Linked DNA regions of Homo sapiens: region 2 is linked to region 1. Evidence: promoter capture Hi-C in human tissues and cell types (Jung and others, 2019). All regions are on one chromosome and are shown on one strand. Each heading gives the region's core, a stretch centred on a gene start or on the middle of the fragment in contact. The rest is flanking DNA. Distances are from core to core; before and after follow the strand shown. Region 1 holds the start of SGK3 (serum/glucocorticoid regulated kinase family member 3). Region 2 holds the start of SNHG6 (small nucleolar RNA host gene 6).

What was found. Contacts are between HindIII fragments. The study calls those that stand out against the background at their distance.
Region 2: a contact is called between a fragment that was not itself captured here and the fragment with the promoter of SGK3 in region 1, in 1 of the 25 tissues and cell types used here (thymus).

The regions. Positions count from the first base shown.
Region 1 is chr8:66,708,220-66,715,725 of GRCh38, forward strand. SGK3 (serum/glucocorticoid regulated kinase family member 3) reads left to right here and starts at 4,562. Exons shown (of 17, transcript NM_001033578.3): 1 at 4,562-4,614. The region is part of intron 3 of C8orf44-SGK3 (C8orf44-SGK3 readthrough); the gene reads left to right. RefSeq lists a silencer at 4,271-4,740. The HindIII fragment of the contact is 13,282 bases long and covers 252-7,506 here.
Region 2 is chr8:66,922,325-66,929,830 of GRCh38, forward strand. It overlaps SNHG6 (small nucleolar RNA host gene 6), which reads right to left and starts at 3,217. Exons shown (of 4, transcript NR_152600.1): 1 at 3,113-3,217; 2 at 290-401; 3 at 1-61. It overlaps SNORD87 (small nucleolar RNA, C/D box 87), which reads right to left and starts at 225; the gene lies at 150-225. It also overlaps a transcript of MCMDC2 not described here. RefSeq lists an enhancer at 2,997-4,196 and a silencer at 3,189-3,388. The HindIII fragment of the contact is 7,268 bases long and covers 1-6,569 here.

The sequences.
Region 1 (7,506 bases), core at 3,312-5,811:
TGACCCACTTAAGCATGTGAGTCTTCAGCAGAATGAGGGAAAAGATACCCTAAAAGCAATGCAAATAATATGAATCAAAACCATCCTTTGCGAGGCTGGGCGAGGTGGCTCACACCTGTAATCCTAGCATTTTTCAAGGCCGAGATAGGAAGATCACTTGATGCCAGGAGTTCAAGACCAGCCTGGGCAATATAGTGGGACCCTGACTCCAAAAAATTTTAAAAATTTGTTGAGGTGGTGGCGCAAGCCTGTAGTTCCAACAACTCAGGAGGTGGGAGGATGGCTTGAAAGCAGGGAGTCGAGGCTGCAGTGAGCCGAGCTCACGCCACTGCACTCCAGCCTGGTGGGTGACAGAATGAAATCCTGTCTCAAAAAACAAAACAAACCAAAAAAAGTATTTTGCTTTTGTAAGCATATAGTTGGTAGGATTATTCTTACCTCTCTAGACTTAATATTTTATCTGCTATAAAACAAGTATTCCTTTTTTTTTTTTTTTTTTTTGCTGGAGTTTCGCTTTGTTGCCCAGGCTGGAGTGCAGTGGTGAGATCTCGGCTCACTGCAACCTCCGCCTCCCGGGTTCAAGCGATTCTCCTGCCTCAGCCTCCTGAGTAGCTGGGGTTACAGGCACCCACCACCACATCTGGCTAATTTTGTATTTTAGTAGCTACAAGATTTCACCATGTTGGCAGGGCTGGTCTTGAACTCCTGACCTCAGGTGATCTGCCTGCCTCAGCCTCCCAAAGTGCTGGGATTACAGGCATGAGCCACGGTGCCTGGCAAAAAACAAGCATTCTAATGAATACCAGCCCTCACTAATGGAAGTGGTATTTCTTGTATTTTTATGCCCCTCACTTCTTCCAAGGTTCTGATAAAAGAACTACAAATAATAGAGGGCTTTATTATGATATAAAAAAGTAATAATGCTTCCACATAAGGCACCATTTTAGAGAAAAGGTTTCCCATTTTGAATAGTGGAGGATGAAAACCAAGCATTCATTTCATTGGAATATATGATCTAAAATAATCGTAATAACCACATTATGTGGCTGGGTAGTTGGGGTTTTTTTGTTTGTTTTTTGAGACGGAATCTCACACTGTCGCCCGGGGCTGGAGTGCAATGGCGTGATCTCAGCTCACTGCTACCTCCACCTCCCAGGTTCAAGTGATTCTCCTGCCTCAGCCTCCCAAGTAGCTGGGATTACAGGTGCCCACCACCACACCTGGCTAATTTTTTGTATTTTTAGTAGACACGGGGTTTCATTATGTTGGCCAGGCTGATCTCAAACTCCTGACCTCGTGATCCATCCGGCTTGACCTCCCAAAGTGCTGGGATTACAGGCGTGAGCCACCGCCAAAATTTCTAAAATCTGGCCATTTTAATACTATTACAAATAAAACATATATAATATTGGCATTTTAATATATGTTTTAGAGCTAATAATGATGAAGATAGCAGTCACTTGGTATTATGTTCCAGGCATTCTACTAAATTCATTTGATCCTCATAGCAATTTCATGAGATTAGCACTATTATCTCCGTTTTACTGAAGAGGAAAAAGCACTATTATCCCCAGGTTACTGATGAAACCGGTGCTCAGAGAAGTGAAACAATTTGCCCAAAGTAGGAAGTGGCAAACCAGGAGTTAAACCTGGGTCTGTCCAATTCCAAAGCTTGTGTTCAAAATCTCTACACTATAGATAAAACAGATGAACAAAATATTTGCTCTATCTGAATGAACAGAATCATATTTTCAAAGAAAGTATTGGGACCCATAGTCTGATAAAAAGCTCTATTTTTAAAATTTATTTACATGAAATATTTCATAAAGGTATAAACATCAGCTAGACATTTAGCTGAACATTCAACAACTTTTTTTTTTACAGTCTAAACTTGGAAACATAACAGAAAATGGGGATATAACCTATATCTCTATCAATAGGTGAACACAATTAATCAAAGTGATCAGCCTTAGCCAGGTGCGGTGGCTGAAGCCTGTAATCCCAGCACTTTGGGAGGCTGAAGCAGGTGGATCATTTGAGGTCAGGAGTTCAAGACCAGCCTGGCCAACATGGTGAAACCCTGTCTCTACTAAAAATACAAAAATTAGCCGGGCGTGGTGGCGCACACTTGTAATCCCAGCTACTGGGGAGGCTGAGGCAGGAGAATTGCTTGAGCCTGGGAGGCAGAGGTTGCGGTCAGCCGAGATCACGCCACTGCACTCCAGTCTGGGTGACAGAGTGAGACCCTGTCTCAAAAAAAAAAAAAAAAACCAAAACAACAACAACAACAACAACAAAGTGATCAGCCTTAAAATTTGCCCTTAAAACCAATTTTAGACTGGGCATGGTGGCTCACGCCTGTAATCCCAGCACTTTGGGAGGCCAAGGCGGGTGGCTCACCTGAGGTCAGGCGTTCAAGACCATCCTGGCCAACATGGCGAAAATCTGTCTCTACTAAAGATACAAAACATTAGCTGGGCGTGGTGGCAGGCACCTGTAATCACAGCTACTCGGGAGGCTGACGCAGGAGAATCGCTTGAAACCGGAAGTTGGAGGAGGTTGGAATGACCTGAGATTGTGCCATTGCACTCCAGCCTGGGCAACAAAAGTGAGACTCCATCTCAAAAAAAAAAAAAAAAAAAAAAACTAATTTAATTACAGTGAAAAAGTCCTTAGTAGTTTGTGAATATATTTACCTCCTCTAGCTTTTTGCAAAATCTAGCTATTAAATTGCAGCTCTCAGATTGTAAAGGCAAAATGCCTAACATGTTGTCTGTTGATCAAATGAACCCAGCCTGGGCAACACAGTGAGACCGTCTCGTCTCAAAAAAAAAAAGAAAATACATAAAATGTTTGTGGGAGGTGATCTCTGTGTGTGTGTGTGTGTGTGTGTGTGTGTGTGTGTGTGTGTGTGTTCTTCACAATAGGACAAATTTATCTAGAAATGTAATGGTTCCCAGATGTTTATTTTTTTAAAAAGTCAAGATGTGGTGATAGCCAGGTATTTGTCTCTAAAGTGAGAATGATGTTATTCCACTTGGAGTTTATTGACACAGAACTTCCTTTTGTCTGAGAAATCTTCAGCACTGTGAATATGGCTTTAATTAAGAGATACACTCATCACTTGTTGATTTTGTTACAAGGGAAGAACTCCTCTAATGTATGTGGATTGCTTTGTGGACCACAGTAAAACATATAAAGGACCACCGGCAATGTATTGTTTTGTATCTACTGCATTCTTATATTCATTTCTGAAAACTACTGTTTAGAAAGTTCTGTAGGATTACTGAAGTACAAAAAGTATTTGGATTCACAATCCACTTTTTAAAGAGAGGCCACATTGTGGTTATTGACATTAAAAATGAATGTCCTAACCCATACTTGTGGGGCTAAATCTTTGAATATCATTTTAAAACATGAGGAAATGTCTTCTGAATTTAGGGAAGTCACACATAGATCCCAGTTCCTCTAATAACCTTTGGCAGTTTATTTGTTCATAGATTTGTGGCAAATTCTCTGGAATCATATGATCTAAAGTACAAATCATTGTCTCAAAATCTAAGGCATGATATGCACATGGGAATCTTTAAGTACTTGTCTGAGTCTATCTTCAAGTGATATCTGATAAGACCTAAATTACAGTAGTGTTGTGGGACGAAGAAAACAACCCACTCTACTTCAAAATCTTAACCACTTGACTCCACATCCATTGAACCATGTAATTCTTAGTTCTCCACTCAGCTTCTCTATCTGTTAAAAGAGATAAACAGATCTAAAACGCAGCTTCTGTAATTCAAGAATGAGTAATAAGGAGCTGTAAAGTGTGCACTCAGCTGACTTGGAGATTAATGGGAATAAAAAAAAGAGTCAGTAGATCTAAAAAGATGTGTGGAAAGGAAATTTCTCTGCACACAGGATCTGCCAATTTGTGAAAGTTCTCGACTGTTTATAAACACAAGGGCCGTAACTCTGCTAATGACAAAAGTGGAAAACTGTCCAAATAATGCTAAATGAATCACAGTTGTTCTCAATTATTTGGATATTTAATTCACTCCTCTGAGTTTCCAGTTTACACCAAGCCAACCCCCCCAACACCACGGGCCCACCCGGGGGGTCCTGATCCCTGCACACACCAGGTCATCTCTGTTGGGCCCCGGCGCTCTGGCCCGCGCCGGTCTTGGGCCCCAGGGTAGCGGCCACTGCGGGCGGAGCAGAGGGAAACACCAGAGTCTGTGACTCCAGACAGGACCCACTGTGTCCTCTTGAACTTTGCACAGCGCGTGACGGGGGCAGACGGTGCACCGTGGCCCGGCCTTTCGCGGGGGTCCTCGGGGAAGAGAGAGGAGCGCGGGTTTCCTCGGAGGCCTGAGCGGGACGCAGCCTGCAGCCCCTCCCCGCACGGGCTGCCCCCGGCCCGCCGCTCGCGCCGCTCTGCTGGGATCCGGCGCCTTCCCCGGCTGTCCTCGGCCTCCCGCGCGCTCCGCGGGAGGAGCCGCCAGCGGCCGTGACGCGTCAAGGAGGAAACGCCGGCGCCCGGCGGCCCTGCCGGGAAGGAGGAAGCGCAGTGCGTTCGGCTCCGCGCCCGCCGCGCCGGGAGCAGCACCGCGGGGCCAGGTAGGTGCGGGGCCGGCGGGAGGGTCCGCGCGCCCGGGACTCCGACGGCGGCCCGGGGCGGGAGGAGACGGGGCGGGGCGAGGGCTGCCCGGGCCTCGGCCGCTGCCTGTCCTCGGAAAAAGCCGTACCTCCGCCCAGCCCCCGGCTCCCGGAGAGTTTGTGGTCTTTGTTTCCACGAGGTGAATTCAGATCCTGCCTCGAGATTCCTAAACGCCCAAGGGGCGTCGGTGGCTGGACCTTGTTAACCCCCACGCAGCCGCCGAGCCTGGAGGAACTGGGAACGCCGAGCAGGGAGACCCTATCTGAGGTCGAAAGTGGGTGCAGGTCACCTGCGAGGGTCGGGGAGGGGGCAGCCGCCAGAGTGGGGTGGATGGAATCGTTTAACCTGTTGTCAGCGGATCTGTAGTAAAAGACCTTAATACGTTGCGTCTTTTAAGTTCTCTGTAATTTGAACCCTTACGTCTCTTCAAGTGAATCTGGCCCTATTAATTCTCACAGTTTTAGCTTTGGAATGTACCCACAAGAAGTGCTTTGAGATTTTTAGATTCTGTCATTTTTAGTCATCGTTACTTGGAAAGAGAAAAGAGAAAGGAATCATCTCTTGAAACTTAAAACGCTTTCATTGAGTTGTGCACAGTGACTTCTGAACCATGAGTAGAATTTCAGTCCTGCACCAGAGACTACTTAGTGTGCACTTGGGTGCAAAATAAATACAGAGCACTGTAATTTCTAAATCTTTTGTCAAAGTGAAAAATAGACTGTTGTGTATTTTGATTCTCTCCCTTCTCACCAGATTGAGACTTCACCCAGCCAATCTGGGAGGTGCCTTTTTTTATTTACCAAACACTTACATAGCCCTTACTATGCGCTGGGCTCTTTCTAAGTTCTTTATAAATATTAAATCAAATTCTTAACTTATCATATTATAGCGGTTCTAGCAATGAAGAGGCTATCCATACTTTAGTTCCCCAAATGTCATTGGAAGAGCTGTAAACATTAGAGGAAGTTTTAGGCATGTTTTAGCACCGGGTGTGCCTTCTGGTCCCCTTGGCTACCACTTCTGTAAGACAAGCCACCACCCCAGCATTTCCCTGGGGTAAGGGAGCCTGGAGCTCCTGGGAATGCGACCTGTTCAAAGCAGATGTTGGCCAGAACCTGAATGACTTGTGTAACATGGTCTCTTTCAACTGCCGTTGTGCCCATCGGCTAACTCTGGAGACACCAGAACTTCCCCTTCTTTAACTGCCACTGCATGGAGCCTACTTTTGTTTTTGAAAAGAGCTTTGTTCCTGATCTGTTCGACACTGTTTATATGACATTATTTATATGACATAGTTTAGATATGAGGGTCAGATTGAACTTGAAATGTACTATAAAATAGAACATTTTTGTTTGCACACATCAACATAACAAATAACGTTTTGTAATTTTACTGCTATTTGCTCTTGGAAACATTGAATTGGTAGGTCAGCCTCATAGGTGTACCTTTTGTGATTTGCAGATATGCAGAGAATATTTTTTCAGAATAACATGCCCTCTTCAAATGTGCACCATTAGAGACCCAATGTGGTGACTAAGATAGACATGATTCTTGTTATTGTGACTATGAATGTAATGTCAAAATCTGCACATCAGACTAGCTTTCTGACTCCCTCACTCCCTTTCTGTGCCCCCCTCCCTTATCTCTCTCTCATATATTTAACTTTTCAGAGAGATGATTAAGTGAGCCGATAAGCCTTATTTAATAGGATTATGAAGTGTCTCTTGAAGCAAGAAGGCTCATGTTCCTCTGATATATTAATAATTTATGACACAACAGGCATTAGTGTCATTTGTGAATTCAGTTTAGTCGGATGACCCCTAGCATTTTCATGGCTTACAAAGTGCTTCCAGACATACTCCTTTACCTTTCAGAGAGATCTTGTATGGTTGATCTCTTAATTACTTTTTATTACCTGTTTTTACAGATGAAGAAACTGAGGCATGGAAATGTTAAAGTGCTTTAGCCTGGATTGCACAGCAGGTGAGAGGCAGAGCTTGAATGGAGGGCAGGTGTGTGGACAGTGCCTGGCACGTGCAGGCCTGTAATAAACATCTGTGGAATGAATGACTCCAAATGGCTTCAGATATCTTGCTCTTTCAAAACATGTCTCTCAAAATACCGTAGTAATTGATTTATGCCTGAGAGATTTCCAGGCCTAATCCAATGCCTCTCTCATTTCAGACAGTATCTAATACAGCACATTTTCTACAAAAAGGATGGGAATCCCTTTGGACTTATTTCTTAAGATTTGCCACCTCTGGTTTTTGAAAAAGAAAATAGGTTGGGTATTTTTTTCATCCTACCTTTTTTCTCTAGTTTTGAGAGTTTAGAACGGACACATGGTATTTATGTTTATGTTGACAGCTTGCTTTCTTTCTTTCTTTCTTTGTTTTTTTTTTGAGACAGAGTCTTGCTCTGTTGCCCAGGCTGGAGTGCAATGGCGCAGCCTAGGCTCACTGCAACCTCCGCCTCCCGGGTTCAAGCGATTCTCCTGCCTCAGCCTCCCGAGTAGCTGGGGCTACAGGTGCATGCCCCCATACCTGGCTAATTTTTGTGTTTTTAGTAGAGACAGGGTTTCACCATGTTGGCCAGGCTATTATCAAACCCCTGACATGATCAGCCTGCCTTGGCCTCCCAAAGTGTTGGGATTACAGGCGTGAGCCACCGTGCCTGGCCACAGCTTTCTTATCTTTCTAAACTACTTAGATTTATGATCAAGTTCAAACTCAATGATCATAGGTATTGTAAATATTTTTGAAATAAAACTATGTGTTTTATTGAAATGTTGCAATGAATTTAGCATAAAGGGTCTTTAAAAACACACACAAAATTCCTCAACTATTTATATG
Region 2 (7,506 bases), core at 1,686-4,185, 210 kb after region 1:
TGAGGTAACGAAGCAGAAGTATTTTTAAACATGACAGCTAAGAACATTCATCTACAGCAACCTATATGCTAAAAACAAAGAATATTCACCCTTAATTAAATTATTGCCTTACATACATGTCAGTAATTAATCAATGTACAGTACTGGCATCTCAGTCTTAAAATTATTTCTTCAAAGACAACCTCAGCTGGGTAAACGGCAAAAAGTAATTTAAGTCATCATTGTGCCAGCTATTAAACCTATCTGTCAAGAATACATCACATAACTAACATTAATTAAATTTAGGTACCTCAATACATGCCGCGTGATCCTAGTAGTTTTTTCACAACCTTCTACAAGTTTTTGGAAAACATCTGTTATGATGACTTTCATACACCTTCACCTCAAAGGCTTTCTTGCACCTGGAAATTAAATATTACATTTCGAATTCCCATTTTTATTTGCATTTTGTTGGGCATCTTATATGTAGGAATGGTCCAAGAAGAGAATCTCATTCCTTTAGGAACTGTACTTGCAACCTACCTTTCAGACTCCCAAACCACTTTTTAATAAAAAAGTACTATTATTCTATTACCTGTTTCTGCTTTTTTGATAGTCAGTACTGACAAACCCAAACCTCTGTAACTGAGTATGTTTGTCTCATTAGTACCTAGTATTTCCACAAATGAGCTTATTCCAAACTGGAAACAGGAGCCATTAGCACTGGCAGGAAAATGGTGGAAACATTTCATGATATCCTTCACTGTGGCAGTTTTGATTTTAAGACATAATGGTCATAGTGAGTACACAGCCGTTGCTTTTCTGTCTCACAGCTCGACAAGGATGAGCTATGAGCCAGGTTAGATGTATAAAAACTAACGTGAAGACCTTCACCTAAAAACATTATAACGGCAAACCTAGCAGTTTCAGAGCAGGGATACCTATATTGGCATTTTTACTGGACACATTCCTGTAAAATTAAGTCCCAAGTTAACTAAAAACTGCAAAGAACATGGACTGGGGCAAAAAATCATGTCATACAGCAGCCCAGGAGAATAAATCATTGAGCCAGGCAGCAATACGAAATGATTTATGAAGACATACAAGGTTGGAGCTTGCAAAAACAATCATTTTCATGTGCTGAAATGCTGAAAATGTTTCACACAATCAGTATTAGGAATATAAACTACTGGTTTTGAATAATTCAAAAAAAATTAACTGAAACAAAAAAAGTTTCAGTTTAATATTATGATTCACAGGAACTACAGACAACTACATGCATAATCCTGTCTTTACAAAGCTTAAAAAATGGGCCGGACACGGTGTCTCCCGCCTGTAATCCTAGCACTTTGTGGGGTCGGGGCGGGTGGATCACCTGAGGTCAGGAGTTCTAGACCAGCCTGGCCAAACCCCATCTCCACTAAAAATACAATAATTAACTGGGCATGATGGTGGGTGCCTGTAATCCTAGCTACTCGGGAGGCTGAGGAAGGAGAATCGCTTGAACCTGGGAGATGGAGGTTGCAGTGTGCTGACATCGCGCCACTGCACTCCAGCCTGCACGACAGGAATGAGAATCCATCTCAAAAAAGCAACAAAAAACCCCACAAAGCTATCCACACCACCCCCCTCCCCCACAAAACCCAAAAGACTGATGGGCACAAAATTCCAAATGGTGGGTACCTATGAATAGGAAGCAGGGAAATGTAAACAATAGATACCCTAGTATTGGTAATATTATAGTTCTCAAATGTATCGGTGGATTCTTTTGTATTATGCTTCAGAACTTTCCTGCACTACCAATTTTATCAATTATTTAGTTTGAAAATTTTTAGAAGTCCCAGCACTTACCAGTGAAAACAGAATTCAAGCTACTGAAGCCTCAAAAATAATAATACCTAAAATATTTCAAGGATAAGCCATGACATTCGTCTTCTTGACAGTTAATGATTATTTCAGACGAAGCAATGCATTTCAAATTTGAAGAAAAAAAAAAACCTATACGAAGTCTCACTGATGAAATTTTAAAATTTGTTTCTATGGCCGGGCGCGGTAACTCACGCCTATAATCCCAGCACTTTGAGAGGCCTAGGCGGGTGGATCACGAGTGGTCAGGCTGGTCAGGAGTTCAAGACCAGCCTGGCCAGATGGTGAAACCCCGTCTCTACTAGAAATACAAAAATTAGCCGGGCGTGGTGGCAGGCGCCTGTAATCCCAGCTACTCGGGAGGCTGAGGCAGAGAACTGCTTGAACCCCGGGAGGTGGAGGATTCAGTGAGCCAAGATCGCGTCACTGCACTCCACCCTGGGCGACAGAACAGACTCTGGCTCAAAAAAAAAAAAAAAAAAGTTTCTGAATAGCTAACAGGTTTTCCCAGCCTCCCAGTTGCTGACCGGTTTCTTCTGTATTATGTCCAGAAATACACATCTCTATGTAAATACAAGCATCTCCGTGTGTAGCAGGCATTTAGCCTAAGGGCCTCCTATACTTGCACGTGTTGTTCTCCAACCTCCATGCCTTGACTTTAGCGCGTATTACGAAGGAAGGTCCAGGAACAAATACTGACTAGCTCTACGAATGGGTCGAGACTAGTAATGACTCAGTAAACTGCGCTCATTACAGTTTCAAAGCCACTCACAAAGTACGGTTAACTAAGGGTCGTCCTGACACCTAAGGGATAATCACCTTCCTATTTATAAAACGCTCCCTTTTAAGGAAAACAAGCTGCCTAAGAGCCTGAAACCGCCAAGGCCGCACGCACAACTTTGCTGGGGACACAAGAGAGATCTGGCCAAGACCGGGTGGAGCACGAAGCCTCCCGACGGTCCCTTGCAGGCACCTCCTTAAGTCAGAAGGCCCTTGCCCAGTTTCTGAGCAGAGGACAGCGAACCGGTGTTGACGGAGAAAGGTCAGCTAAGCCTTCCAGGTGGTTACTCACAAAACGCGACTGCGCAAATGGCTTGTGGGGAAAGCTCGTGGGCCTTGGGGGCACCGGGAGCGTAGCCTTTTGGCCTACGCAGCAGCCGCCCGCTCCGCTGCGCCCGGGGAAGGGACAGGGGCCGCGCTGGGCACCCATATGGCGGAGGAACCCGGCACGTAGAGGAGTTGGACCTAAGACCGCGATCACTCTCACCTCGCAGAGCCCAGCTACGGGCCCGCAGTCTCCGCCGCCGCCACCACACCGGCATGACTAACGGCTCTTCGCGCTTCTTCCTCCCTCGCCGGTCGCGCGGGAAAGGAAGAGCGACATCGGAAGACAGCTCTTAGGCACTCCGGTGGCCCCGCCTCTTCCGGTACGCGGCCCCGCCCCTCCGCGGGTGCGAAGGGGGGCTGAGTGCACCGGCTCTGGGGAGGGGGCGGAGGGGAGATGAGACCCGCACCTTAGCCCTCTTCCCTGGTTGCGCGGTGCGGCGACGCTGTGTGCCACACAGCAAGTTTATGTGGGGGCTTTGTGACTTCCCGCAGGGGCTTTTCAGGCTCAGGAGTAACTCTGCTAGAGCTAGTCAATGTTTAATTTACCAGTTTGCAGTGGATGCAAACGAGCAGAATATGCCCTAAAAGGCCGGGCGCGGTGGCTCAAGCCTGTAATCCCAGCCCTTTGGGAGGCCTAGGCGGGAGGATCACCCGATGTCAGGAGTTCGAGACCAGCCTGGCCAACATGGTGAAACCCCCATCTCTACTAAAAATACAAAAAAATTGGCCGATTGTGGTGACGCGTGCCTGTAGTCCCAGCTACCCGGAAGCTGAGGCACGAGAAATCGCTTGAACCCGGGCAGCGGAGGTTGCAGTGAGCCAAGATCGCGCCACTGCACTCTAGCCTGGGTAAGGCTCCGTCTCAAAACAAACAAACAAACCAAAAAACATATATATAGCATTCATAAAGCAGTTACCTACCTTGTTTATGAACATGTTATAATTTGCTGTTGATTTTCACGTCTTATTACTTCTGTTTTTCTCATTGTATTATAGAATCCTGACTGCAAAGCACTGGGCTTGATGCTGGAGCAGAAAGGCTTATGATCTTGTTGCCAGAAAGAATACACATGAAAGCATATGATTAAACAATCTACTCACTTAAAGATAGGTCATCTCTCCTTAATATTTTTGGCTTTTGTTTTGTTTTGAGGCGGAGTCTCTCTCTGTCGCCCAGGCTGGAGTGCAGTGGCTCGATTTCAGCTCACTGCAAGCTCCGCCTCCCGGGTTCACGCCATTCTTCTGCCTCAGCCTCTCGAGTAGCTGGGACTACAGACGCCCGCCACCACGCCCAGCTAATTTTGTTGTATTTTCAGTAGATCCGGGGTTTCACCGTGTTAGCCAGGATGGACTCCATCTCCTTACCTCGTGATCTGCCTGCCTCGGCCTCCCAAAGTGCTGGAATTACAGGTGTGAGCCACTGCGCCCGGCCAATTTGTTTTTGTGTTTTGGTTGGTTGGTTTTGTTTTTAGAGACAGGGTCTCCCTCTGTTGCTCAGCCTGGAGTGCAGTAGTGCAGTCATGGCTCATAGCAGCTTCCATCTTCTAGGATCCTCAAGAGATTCTCCCACCTCAGTCTTGAGTAGCTAAATGCTCACCACCATGCCCTGCTAATTTTTAAAACGTTTCGTAGAAATGCGGGGGTCTCACTATGTTGGCCAGGCTGGCCTCCAACTCCTGGCCTTAAGCTATCCTCTCGACTTGGCTTCTCAAAGTGCTGGGATTACAGGCATGAGCCACAGCGCCTGGCCAATCTCTCCTTTAGACACCGGAAATCTAAGAAACGAATACAAAATCCGGTACAAAATTTCAATTTGTCTCAAGTAACATAGAGTATGAATATCTAAGCCTAGTAAGCCTAGCAAAACAAATTGTGATTGTACCTCCTTTAACAAAGGATTGCAAAGTATTTTACAGGAGCTTAAAAATCTTTGCTTGGGCCTCCAAATGGAAGCCGTTTCTCCTGTTAAGTAGTGACATGGACCTCAACCTGCTTCTTGGACTAAGATTCCTGGCTGGATGTTGCTTCCACAACCTAATTTTGCAACCTGGGCTGTCACCTCCAGTGTGAAGGGGAAGCTGTGGGAGCCACCATTACTAAAAGGTATAAGTGAGAGTTAGTTTGGACATTAAATCCATAGATGCTAAGGCAACAATTTAGGCAAGTTCTTGGTGTCACTGAGTGCAGGGCCATATGATAACTGGAGGCAAACATGGACAATTCCCCTGCCATGGTTCCAGAGAGGATAGCTCCTGCGTTGCTAACAGCTTTGTGTTGTCTCCTGCAGGCATTCACAGGGCATTCATTGACCTCTACTGGGAAGAAATAGCTGAGCCGGGTGGACAGATTAGGAAGGGGCCACTGCCTTATTGACTTACTATGTTCTTTCTTCAGAAAGGATATAATTAAATATCTTGACTAAAATTTAGATGTTGCCAAAACTGTGCAGCCACCCATTTCAGGTTATCATCTTATGTCAGTTACTTTAATTAATAATGTCATTAAATGTATGTTTTCAACTGCAAGTAACAAAATATGCAACTAAAGTAGCTTCTGGAAAATGAGGAGTATATTATTCTATATTACAAGAAATCCAGAGGTAGATGGCTCTCGGGTTGATTGATTTAGCAGGAAAACACTGTCAGGGTTGCTGGTTGAATTCTCTGAGATTCTTGGTTTTCCCTTCATAGTTGCAAAAAGCCTCCCATAGCTGTAAACATCATATCTTTTTTCTTTTTTTTTTTTTTTTTGAGACAGTCTTGCTCTGTTGCCCAGGCTGGCGTGCAGTGGCAGGATCTTGGCTCACTGCAACCTCTACCTCCTGGGTTCAAGCTATTCTCCTGCCTCAGCCTCCAGAGTAGCTGGGATTACAGGTGCCTCCCGCCACACCCAGCTAATTTTTGTATTTTTAGTAGAGATGGGGTTTTATCATGTTGACCAGGCTGGTCTCGAACTCCTGACCTCAAGTGATCCACCTGCCCTGGCCTCCCAAAGTGCTGGGTTACAGGCGTGAGTCACTGCACCCAGCTATGTCTTCATATAACAACATTCAAAGGTGGGAAGGAGGGACATTTCACATGTTTCTCTTTTAACCAGGTTGGAAAATCTTCCCCAGAATGCCCACAGTAGACTTGTTTTCAGGTCTCACTGGCCTTGATTGGGTTACAAGTCCAGGCATTATCAGCTTATAATATGGGAAAGTGGACTCTGACAGAAAGGGAAGGGAGACGCCTGTTTGGTGGGCTGCTAATAGTGCCTGCACACAGGGGAAACTTTAAAGTGTGAGCGTATTGCTGTGAATCCATGAGCTCAGTTCTCATTACTATTCAAAGTGAGAGAAGATTACAAGGATATGATGAAAGATAGAGGAATTCTGACAAAGAATGGGTACAGATTTCCAGTTCCACTTCTGTTACAAAAGCAAAAATAGCTTTTCTTTAGCATAGCTTTATTGACATACAAAAACTGCACATATTGAAAATGAAAAATCAGATAAGTTTTGACATATGTGAAACCATCACCTGTGAAACCATCACCACATTCAAAATAATCAGCATATTCATCATCCCTAAACATTTCTTCATTCCCTAATCCAAAAGTCACCCTCACATCACTCCCCTCAACTGCACCAGGGAACCACTGATTTGTTTTCTGTCACTATAGATCAATTTGCTTTTTCTATAACTAGTTTAAATGAAATCATTCAGAATATACTTTATTTACAGTGTTATTGAGGTATTATTGACATACAAAAAACTGCACATATTTAATCTATACAATTTGATGGGCCAGTATGCACTGTGTTTTGGTCTGGCTGCTTTCACTCAGCATAATTATTTTGAGATTCATCCATGTGGTTGTGTGTTACAATAGTTAATTCCTTTTTATTGCTGAATGGTATTCCCTTATCTGAGTATACCACAATTTTTTTTTCTGTTTTTTGTTTGTTTGTTTGTTTTTTGAGACAGAGTCTCGCACTGTTGCCCAGGCTGGAGTGCAGTGGCAGGATCTCAGCTCACTGCAACCTCTGCCTCCTGGGTTTAAGCAATTCTCCTGCCTCAGCCTCCCGAGTAGCTGGGACTACAGGCGCCTGCCATGAAGCCTGGCTAATTTTTGTATTTTTAGTAGACATGGGGTTTCACCATGTTGTCCAGGCTGGGCTCAAACTCCTTGCCTCAAGTGATCCGCCTGCCTTGGCCTCCCGAAATGCTGGGATTACAGATGTGAGCCACTACACCAGGCCCCTGTCTTCTTCCTCTTCCTCTTCTCCTCCTCCTCTTCTTCCTCCTCCTCTTCTTCTTCCTCCTCCTCCACTTCCTCCTCCTCCTCTTCTTCCTCTTCCTCCTTCTCCTCTCTTCCTTCTCCTCTTCCTCTTCCTCTCTCTCTTTTTCTGTTGAAGCCTTTGTATTTTTTCGTCTCTATTGAAGACTTCCTTGACTTCCTCTCTTCTTTGAGTTCATTTCTTGAGTCTCCTCTTCCTATGCAAAACTTTTTTTCCTATAGTTTCTTGTTGGAAAAATGCAAAGTTTAATGTTCACTACTTTATGTTTTGCT